Regions from separate parts of the Homo sapiens genome. Here region 1 is linked to region 2. Evidence: promoter capture Hi-C in 16 types of primary human blood cells and fetal thymus (Javierre and others, 2016). All regions are on one chromosome and are shown on one strand. Each heading gives the region's core, a stretch centred on a gene start or on the middle of the fragment in contact. The rest is flanking DNA. Distances are from core to core; before and after follow the strand shown.

What was found. The method cuts DNA at HindIII sites, captures the fragments that hold promoters and counts their contacts. A CHiCAGO score of 5 or more calls a contact.
Region 1: a contact is called between a fragment that was not itself captured here and the fragment with the promoter of FBP1 in region 2, in 6 of 17 cell types (M2 macrophages, M1 macrophages, total B cells and 3 more). The highest score is 8.5, in M2 macrophages.

What each region holds. Positions count from the first base shown.
Region 1 is chr9:95,168,685-95,171,768 of GRCh38, forward strand. It overlaps FANCC (FA complementation group C), which reads right to left. Exons shown (of 15, transcript NM_000136.3): 6 at 2,395-2,459. Among named protein-coding and RNA genes, the nearest start is that of MIR3074, 84 kb to the left of the region's middle. The HindIII fragment of the contact is 3,108 bases long and covers 1-2,804 here.
Region 2 is chr9:94,637,759-94,643,624 of GRCh38, forward strand. It overlaps FBP1 (fructose-bisphosphatase 1), which reads right to left and starts at 1,760. Exons shown (of 7, transcript NM_000507.4): 1 at 1,383-1,760. The coding sequence starts at 1,552. RefSeq lists a silencer at 1,834-1,893. The HindIII fragment of the contact is 3,451 bases long and covers 1-2,763 here.

The DNA of each region.
Region 1 (3,084 bases), core at 1-2,500, 530 kb after region 2:
CACGCCCAGCTAATTTGTACTTTTAGTAGAGATGCGGTTTTGACATGTTGGCCAGGCTCGTCTTGAACTCCTGAAATCGGGTGATCTACCTACTTCAGCCTCCCAAAGTGCTGGGATTAAAGGCATGTGCCACCGCACCTGGCCTAAATTGTGTACTGTTCTGAGTAGCATGATGAAATCTCATGCTGTCCCACTCTGTCCCATCTGGAACATGAATCATCCCTTTACCCAGGGTATCCATAATATATACACTACCTGCTCGTTAGTCACTTAGTAGCCATACTGGTTGTCAGATCAACTGTCACAGTATCACTGTGCTTGTGTTCAAGTAACTCTTATTTTATTAATACTTAATAATGACCTCAAAGTCCAAGAGCACTGGGGCTGGCAATTTGGATATGCCACAGAGAAGTTGTAAAGTGCTTTCTTTAAGTGAAAAGGTGAAAGTTTTCAACTTAATAAGGAAAGAAAAAAATCATATGCTGAGGTTGCTGAGATCTATAGTAAAAACAAATCATCTATCTGTGAAATTGTAAAGAAGGAAAAAAATTTCTGTTAGTTTTGTCGTTGCATCTCACATGGCAAAAATTACAGCCATCATATATGATAAGTGCTTAGTTACGATGGAAAAGACATTAAAGTTGTGAGTGGAATACAGAAATGTGTTATGATTGGTGGCAATCAGGTTTGGTACTATCCACAGTTTCAGACATCCACTGGGTGTCTTGAAATATATTCCCTATAGATAAGGAGGGATTACTGTATGCGATTTCCTCATCAGTGCTCCCGGTCAGTAGAGACAGAAATCAGTTCCTCAGTCTGCTTCCTAAAAAGTGAGAATGTTGGATGCACATTCCACTCTTCTTTTTCCCTCCCAAGGAAGAGAAGCCACAAGCTGGGTTTTTCCTACCAATCTCACCAAGCTGCCAGACCTGGAAAAGGGCTATCACAGTTGACATGAAACAGATTGTTTAATCAATTTCAATGTGGCTATTCTAGACTTTGAGCTTGCCTGCAGTACTGTGACTTCTTAATTGGTTCTGTAGTTCTCACTATAATTTTTTGGGATGTATGCTGTAGTTAAGTCAATGTCTCTACTGGAAAATAAGGTCTAGGACTTCCTATTCTGCCATCTTGCTGATGTCATTCCTGAAGAACGCCTTTAATGTTATTATTAATTCAGTTTTCATCTTCTAGTAATGACCTGCTTATATTCCTTGCTCATTTCTATAACGGAGTGTTTGCCTCTTTATGATTTATTTTTGCAAGTCATTTCTATATTTTGCATTCTGATCCTTTGTTTCTATTTGTTAACAGATTTTAAAAATTATTTTGTTTATTGTCAGCTGCTTTTTAAAAAATCAACTGTGATGCATATTTTGGGAGTTTGGTGTAGGGAGTACATACACACTGCACTGACTGATTTTTAAGGTCTTTTTGAATAAATTTATAATTACATAATTCAAAAGATCCATCAGTCAACATTCACCTCACAACCAAATCCAAGTCTTTACCTGACATGTAAATAAATAAATCTAAACACTCTCCATGTCTCCTATGGTTCTTCTTACATTGCCAAATCCAACATAATGAAGATTATCTCCAATGTTTTCCTCTAATAATTATATAGTTTAAGGGTTAGGTGCAAAGGATTCCTAAAGGTTGAGGACAAAGACAATTTCTGATAGAGCTTGAATTAGCAATAGCTTTACAAAAAAAAAAAAAAATCACCAAGTCCCTCAGTCCCAGATTCTCTTGGTTAATGATATGTCAAAAATGAAATGCCCACCAATGAAAACTGAGATTCTTTTACAGAGTGAAGAAACATTTGTAATGTGATTAATTGCCTTTTAATTTGTCTGAATCTCTTTGATTTGTTTAGTCTAGATTTTGGAATATCATGTTTCTTAAAATAGGGCATATGTTCACATCAAATGTTGCCTTGTAAATATCGTGTGTGTGTGTGTGTGTGTGTGTGTGTGTGTGTGTGTGTGTTGGGAGCAGAAGAAGGCAGAGCCAGGGCAGGCTAGTGTGAGAGCATACACTTGCATCTGTGCACATTCTCCTCTTGCAGAGTGAGCAATCCCAGGGTAAAACTAAGTACTGCTCTTTCTTTTATGCTCCCTACTGTGTATGTAGGGCTTTCTACCTAATGGGCCCACAAAAGACATTGTATGATTTACTTACTGCTCTGTGAGAGTTGAGAAAATAGTGATTTTTAAAAGAGTTTGAAAAAACTCACCAATTTGCTATGTATTCCACTAAAATAATCTTTCTATATAAAATACAACCATAACTGAACATCCATTTCCTATGAATTGTAAAATTTTCCTCTCATAACCAAACTGATACATTTTGAAACCTGAGAAGAAGGATGTTTAGTTTAACACCTACCGCCTTTGAGTGTTAAATCCATTAAGATGATTCTCTCTGAGTTCAGACGCTAATGATAAAACCATCTGTAAAACAAAATCAGTTGCAGGTTAACTCACGCTGCAAACAGGATTACATCAGTTCTATTTTTCTTGGTGTGAGTGATATTTCCGTTGAGATTCCCCCAACCCCCATCTTCTCATGTTTCACTCTGTCAGAGTGAAAAGGAAGCAGTGCCATGTCACATTTACTAATAATTGGGATTTTATGTTTAATGTCTATAATTCTGCATTCCTATTTAAGCAATGAACAATAGACAGGTCATTAATTTCCTAAGAATTAAAACCAAATCCATTTAAAGAAAAGTTAGTTTACTTCTTCATTTAAAATTCAGTTCATTTGAAAAAAAAAAAAAAGTTGTTATTGTACAAAGCTTCCAAAACACCGGAATGGTTAACAAACATTAAAAAATCTCATAACATTTTTTAGAAGAGTTACATCAAGTTTGTAAGTTAAAATTTCTCACATTTGGCTATAATTTAAGCCAGAAGAAAACAATGCTTTAATATTAAGAGGTAAATATTTAAAACTATGTACTGAATTTTCTGTTTTGCTTTAACAGAAAATTCCAATCAGGTTATTTGAAATACAAGATTCTTTCAACAGTACAAGACTGTGTTTATAATAGCTAAGAACAGCTCTTCTCCCAAA
Region 2 (5,866 bases), core at 510-3,009:
AACCCAGTTACACTTCAGTTAAAAGTGTGGATCAGTTAGCTAGAAAATACCTGCGCACGGCGGCTCATGCCTGTAATCCCAGCACTTTGGGAGGCCAAGGCATCACCGGAGGTCGGGAGTTCGAGACCAGCCTGACCAACATGGAGAAACCCCGTTTCTACTAAAAAAAATTACAAAATTAGCTGGGCATGGTGGCACATGCCTGTAATCCCAGCTACTCGGGAGACTGAGGCAGGAGAATCGCTTGAACCTGGGAGGCAGAGGTTGCGGTGAGCCAAGATCGCACCATTGCACTCCAGCCTGGGCAACAAGAGCAAAATTCCATCTCAAAAAAAAAAAAAAAAAGAAAAGAAAAAGAAAATACCTGTGCACACCAACACAAACGAAAGGATGTTGTGTGACTTACAAAAAACCTCACAAGAAGGGGTCCTTTGAGTCTCCACTCCACTTGACCCCTTGCTACTCACAATGTGATGAGTAGACAAACAGTATCTGATGGGCAGCACCCACCACAGGAGAACTTCTTAGAAATGCAGAATCTCAGGACCTGTCCCAGAGCTATGGAAGGAGGGCACACATCTTACCAAGATCCCCAAATGATTCCTGTGCCCAGTGACGTTCGAGATGCACTCCATAGCGCATTCAGAACCATTCTACAAACCACTTTTGAGCTTTCCACTAATTGGGCAGAGGCTGCACACACCATCATTGCAAATCGATAGGGGTTTTGAAGCCCTGGGTGTTTCCTGTTTCTGGCACAGCATGGCAACTGTCCCAGCAAGGGGCAGCCCACGGGAGCTCCTTTGCACACAAGCCCTGCTGCTCCTAAAGGCTCTGGACACACAGGAGACCTCCCAGCCTGCTTGCGGGGGGGGCGGGGGGGACACTCGCTCCTAACAGGTCTTGTTTCAGGTCAGAGATAACTGGATTAGAAACCTGACTTGGGTCCCTAATTGCAGAAAGAGTGAAGGAGGACAAAGAAGAAATGGGGAAGGAAGGCACCTGAGCTAGCACTTTCCTGTCTGAGGCTAGGGCGGGTATGACGGGCAGGCCAGGTGCCCACACTTGGCCGGCTGAGAGGGGTACGAGGCAGGCTGCTCAGGGCAGAGAAGAGGAATGCAAGATGGAATCAGGTGTACACCTGTGAGACGGACCCCCAGGTGGGCCCCTCCAAGGTCAAGGGAGGAGATGAGGACTTGAGTGAGGCTGAGCCAGCTTCTGGAGAGAGGGGCTACCAGACAGAGAGCGAGAGAGGCGCTCAGACATCAGACGGACAGACAGAGGCTGACGGCAGGAGGCTCAGAGGGCCCAACGTCAGCCCGCCGGGCAGGCTCCCCAGGCAGACAGACAGGACGGGGCCCACCGCCCAAGGCCCGACTCACAGGTGCGCGATGCCCGCCTTGCGCACCGCCGAAGAGATGGCTTTGACTGCTGTGCAGAGCGAGTTGAGCAGCTGGGTCAACTCGCCCGTGCCGCGGGCCTTCCTGCCCTCCTCCATGACGAAGCGGGTCAGGGTGTTGACGTCCGTGTCGAAGGGCGCCTGGTCAGCCATGCTTGAACCGGGTAGAGCGCGGGGCTGCAGGTGCAAGCGGCAGGTGCGGGGCTGCAGGTGCGGGCGGCAAGAGAGGGCAGTAGGCACTGGCCGCAGGTGCGGAGCTGCAGGTGCGGGCGGCAGGTGCGGGCCGCGGGACCTGGCGGGAGGACTGACAGACCGACTGCCGCCCCGAGTGTCCGCAGCGCTCGTGGTGCAACTGGGCCAGGCCAGGCGCCGGCGGGTGAATCGCGGAAACCTTTAGACGCGGGTCGGCCCCCCGCCCCCGGGAACACTCTTGCGCCCCGCCTACCCCGCGGACCAGACCGCGGCTCCGCCTGCTTGGATCTTCAGACAAGGTCGGGGATCCTCCCTGCGGTCTCCCAACCCCCGCCCCCACGCGCCCTGCCGCCCCCTAGTCTTCCTGGGCTGTCGCCCCCCACACACACCCCTCCGTGCCCTCCACCCGCACTGTGGAGCGGGACTCGGGCCATCGGACTCTGCCAGAGAGAAAGCTATGACTGTTTCCTCCAAAATCATAAAACGGAAGTTCAGAAAGGTTAAGTAACTTGCTCAATGCCACCAGCTAGGCAGCGAAACCCGCAGCCAGTCCACATGGCCTGGCTTTAGCTCTGCAGCTCCTGCCCCGTGTGGCTGCCTGCCCCCGCCCCCTGCCCAAGCCCCGTCCACTCTGCCTGGCCTGTCACCTGGCCCTTCTGTCCCCGCTAGGAGACACAGAGTCCCCGTTTCTCACCCATCTGAGGGCCCACGTCTGAATCCTTAATCCAGGCCTCTTCTCAAGATTCCTAGAATTCGAGAGCTATTGAGTATTTGAATTTCCAAGATGTGAGTCTCGCCCGGAAGTTTCCCGGAAAACGGTCGCTGACACAGAGTCCTCGGCTACCACACAAAGGCCAGAGGGCTCCACCGCCCGCATCCTGACCCCCTGGTAGCCACAATGCTGCAATTGATGTGCTGATTCACGAAACAACACCTATTGAGCACCTGCTGTGCTGAACACTGTCCTACCTTCCAGGGGTGGAGCCTGATCCAAACAGACAAAACTCCTGCCCTTTTCGAGTGTACGTTTTCACAGAGAAACAGTAAAAATAAATATATAAACAATAGATTAGTTTGTTACATAAGCCATAAGTACCATAGAGAGAAACGAAATAGAAAAGGAAGACACGGAATGTGGAGGGGAGAAGAGGGTGAGCAGAGGCCTCAGTAAAAGCTTCTCTGAGAAAGGGATATGTGAGCAAAGAGGTGAAGGATGCAACGCGCCGGTGGAGATGGGAAGGAGAGCGGTTTCCTCACCGGGAGAGCCAGTGCACAGGCCCTGGGGTAGGAGACCATGTTTCAGGTTCAGGGAATGGCCAGGAGACCGGTGGAGCTGAAATAGAGCTAGCAAGGGTCAGAGGTGGAGGAGATAAGGCCAGCGGGAGGATGCAGAGGTGAGGTCTAGAGGGCCAAGTGAGGTTTGACTTTGACTAGGAGGAACCCACTGGAGAGTTTGGAGAAGAAGAGAGGCATGGTCTACCCTGTGTCTTCATACTGCGGCTACTGTGTGAAGATCAGACTGAAGACAGTGCCCTCCAGGTTACTAGGAGATAGTGAGCCAGGTGTTAGCAGTGGAGGTGGTGGATTCTGGACATATTTTGAAGGTAGAGCTGATGGGATTCGTTGACAGATGAGATATGTGAGAGACAGGAGTCTCGGATGATTCTAAGGTTTGAGGCCTGAGAAACTAGAAGAATGCAGTTGTCCTCGACTGCGATGGGGAACACCGAGAGGGGCGTGTGCTGGAGGCAGGACTGACAATTAGGAGCTAAGTGTGGGACCTGCTAAGTTTGAAATGCCTTCTAGACATCCAAGGCAATGTCAAATAGACAGATTTATGTATCTGGAGTTCAGAGGAGAGATCCATGCTGCAGGTATAAATTGGAAAAGCCAACTGGAAAAACCAACCAAAAACCAAGAGATGTGACATCCGGGAAGCCAGATGAAGAAGGTAAGTAAAGGCGGGCTGACCCATGTGCCAAGCGGTGTGGATGGGGCAGGCAGGACAAGCTCTGAAAATTGACTGCTGGATTCACCGTGGAGACCTGGGGTGCAGATTCCTGTGCCCAGGGTTGTCAGATGCGGCGGCGTTGAATGAAGGAAGGTGGTGGTACCACCAGGAAAGACAGCGACTGTCTCCTCAAAGCCCCAGAGGGGACTTAGATGCCTGGCAAAGAGAGTTGATCCTTTAAGGGTCTTATTTAACTCTTTGTTCCTCAGGCAACTTTTCAGGAAAAACCCTGTGTTAAAAAAAATAGTAAGAGAAATACATCCTTAAACATAAAAACTCAAATAGGCCCGGCTCACTGGCTCACACCTGTAATCCCAGCACTTCACTTTGGGAGGCCGAGGCGGGCAGATCACCTGAGGTTGGGAGCTCGAGACCAGCCTGACCAACATGGAGAAACCCCGTCTCTACTAAAAGTACAAAAATTAGCTGGGCATGGTGGTGCATGCCTGTAATTCCAGCTACTCAGGAGGCTGAGGCAGGAGAATCGCTTGAACCTGGGAGGCGGAGATTGCAGTGAGCAGAGATGGCACCATTGCAGTCCAGCCTGGGCATCAAGAACAAAACTCCATCTCAAAAAAAAAAAAAAAAAAGAAAAACAAACAAACTGGAGGCTGAGGCGGGCAGATCTTGAGGTCAGGAGTTCAAGACCAGCCTGGCCAACATGGTGAAACCCATCTCTACTAAAATAAAAAATTAGCCGGGCATGGTGGTGTGCACCTGTAATTCCAGCTACTCAGGAGGCTGAGGCAGGAGAATCGCTTGAACCCGGGAGACAGAAGTTGCAGTGAGTCAAGATCCTGCCGCTGCACTCCAGCCTGGGCAACAGAGCGAGATTCAATCTCAAAAAAAAAAAAAAGAACTGAAATGTGATGACTAGTATTTTTGGCATAGTAACTAGTTACTAGGGGAGAGCTAGAGCTAGTAACTAGGGGAGTGTGCCCCTTTACTTGCCAGACTCTCAGTCCCTCAGGATCTTGGATTGGCTAGGACCGTAAAAGTCATCTAGTCCAGCCAACCCTCATTGGACACCATCCCTGATAAGAGGTGAAGAGCTTGGGATCTGCATTAAGCAAACTTGTTTGAGTCCCAGCTCCAGCCCTCAGCAGCCAGAGATCTCGGACCAGTTACCTAATCTCTGTAAACCCAGTTTGTTCATCCATATAGTGGAATAATGGTTCCATCTGGCAGTGGTGTCATCGGGCTGAAATGAGATGGCATTGGCAGAGTGCTTAGCTCAGAGCTACACACAGGGGACACACTGAATACGTGGAGGAGACCCCTGTCTAGCTCAGTCACTTCTGCTTGTCACCCACGATGATGGGCAGCTCATTGCCTACAAGGCAAGCCATTCCCCTTGGGACTAGGCCACGTCGCATTGTGGTGAAGTGCACAGACTCTGGGGCTGCATGGCTTGGGTCCAAACCCTGGCCTGGCCACTTACTGGCTGTGCAAGCCTGTGCAATTGGCTAAACCTCACCAAGCAACCATTGGCTCATCTGTAAACTGGGGCTAATGATTGTAGCCACCTCATAGGGTTGCTGGGAGAATTATACAGGCAGTGCTGGTAGTGTTTAAGAACAGTGCCCAGCATGTAGTAAGTACACAGTATGTAAGTGTTTGCTTCGTTACATGGGTAGGGCCAACTGTTGTTTTCATGTGAACAGAAGCAAGAAAGTTCCCTGGCCATCAAAAGGGGCTAGAGGGATGTGGGAATTGGCAGCTGAGCCTGTATTTGCCTGGTGTGCAGTGATATCCCCTCCATCATATTGGTCGATTGTGACTCGCTCTTTTCTGGGTCAAGATGCATAAAGCCCATCACCCAGGTATTAGCAAGAGACAGAGGAAGGCGGCCACCTCACATGGGTTCCTGGCCTGTGGGTTGGGCCCCTCCCTCCTCCACCCACCACCCTCGCAGAGTTGCTTCTTGCCACATACTCCAACTTCACATGGGATTGCAGATTCAAGTGATGTGAGCAGTATTACCACATGTGTAACACTCGAAATCCTGCGAAGAATCAGTGCTCATGCATTTCCTCACCCAGCTCCCACGATGGGGTTATGTTGGAGGCGGGCAGTGGAGAAGTAACAGTGTGGACAGTCCCTGCCCCTACAACAGCCGCCCTCAACCCAGGGCTCCACTGCTTACTTTCCCCTCTGTGGGGGCGGTTAGTGCCACAGGAAAGAAAAACAGGCCAGGCACAGTGCACACACCTGTAATCCCAATGCTCTGGGTTGCCGAGGCAGACAGACCACTTGAGCCCAGG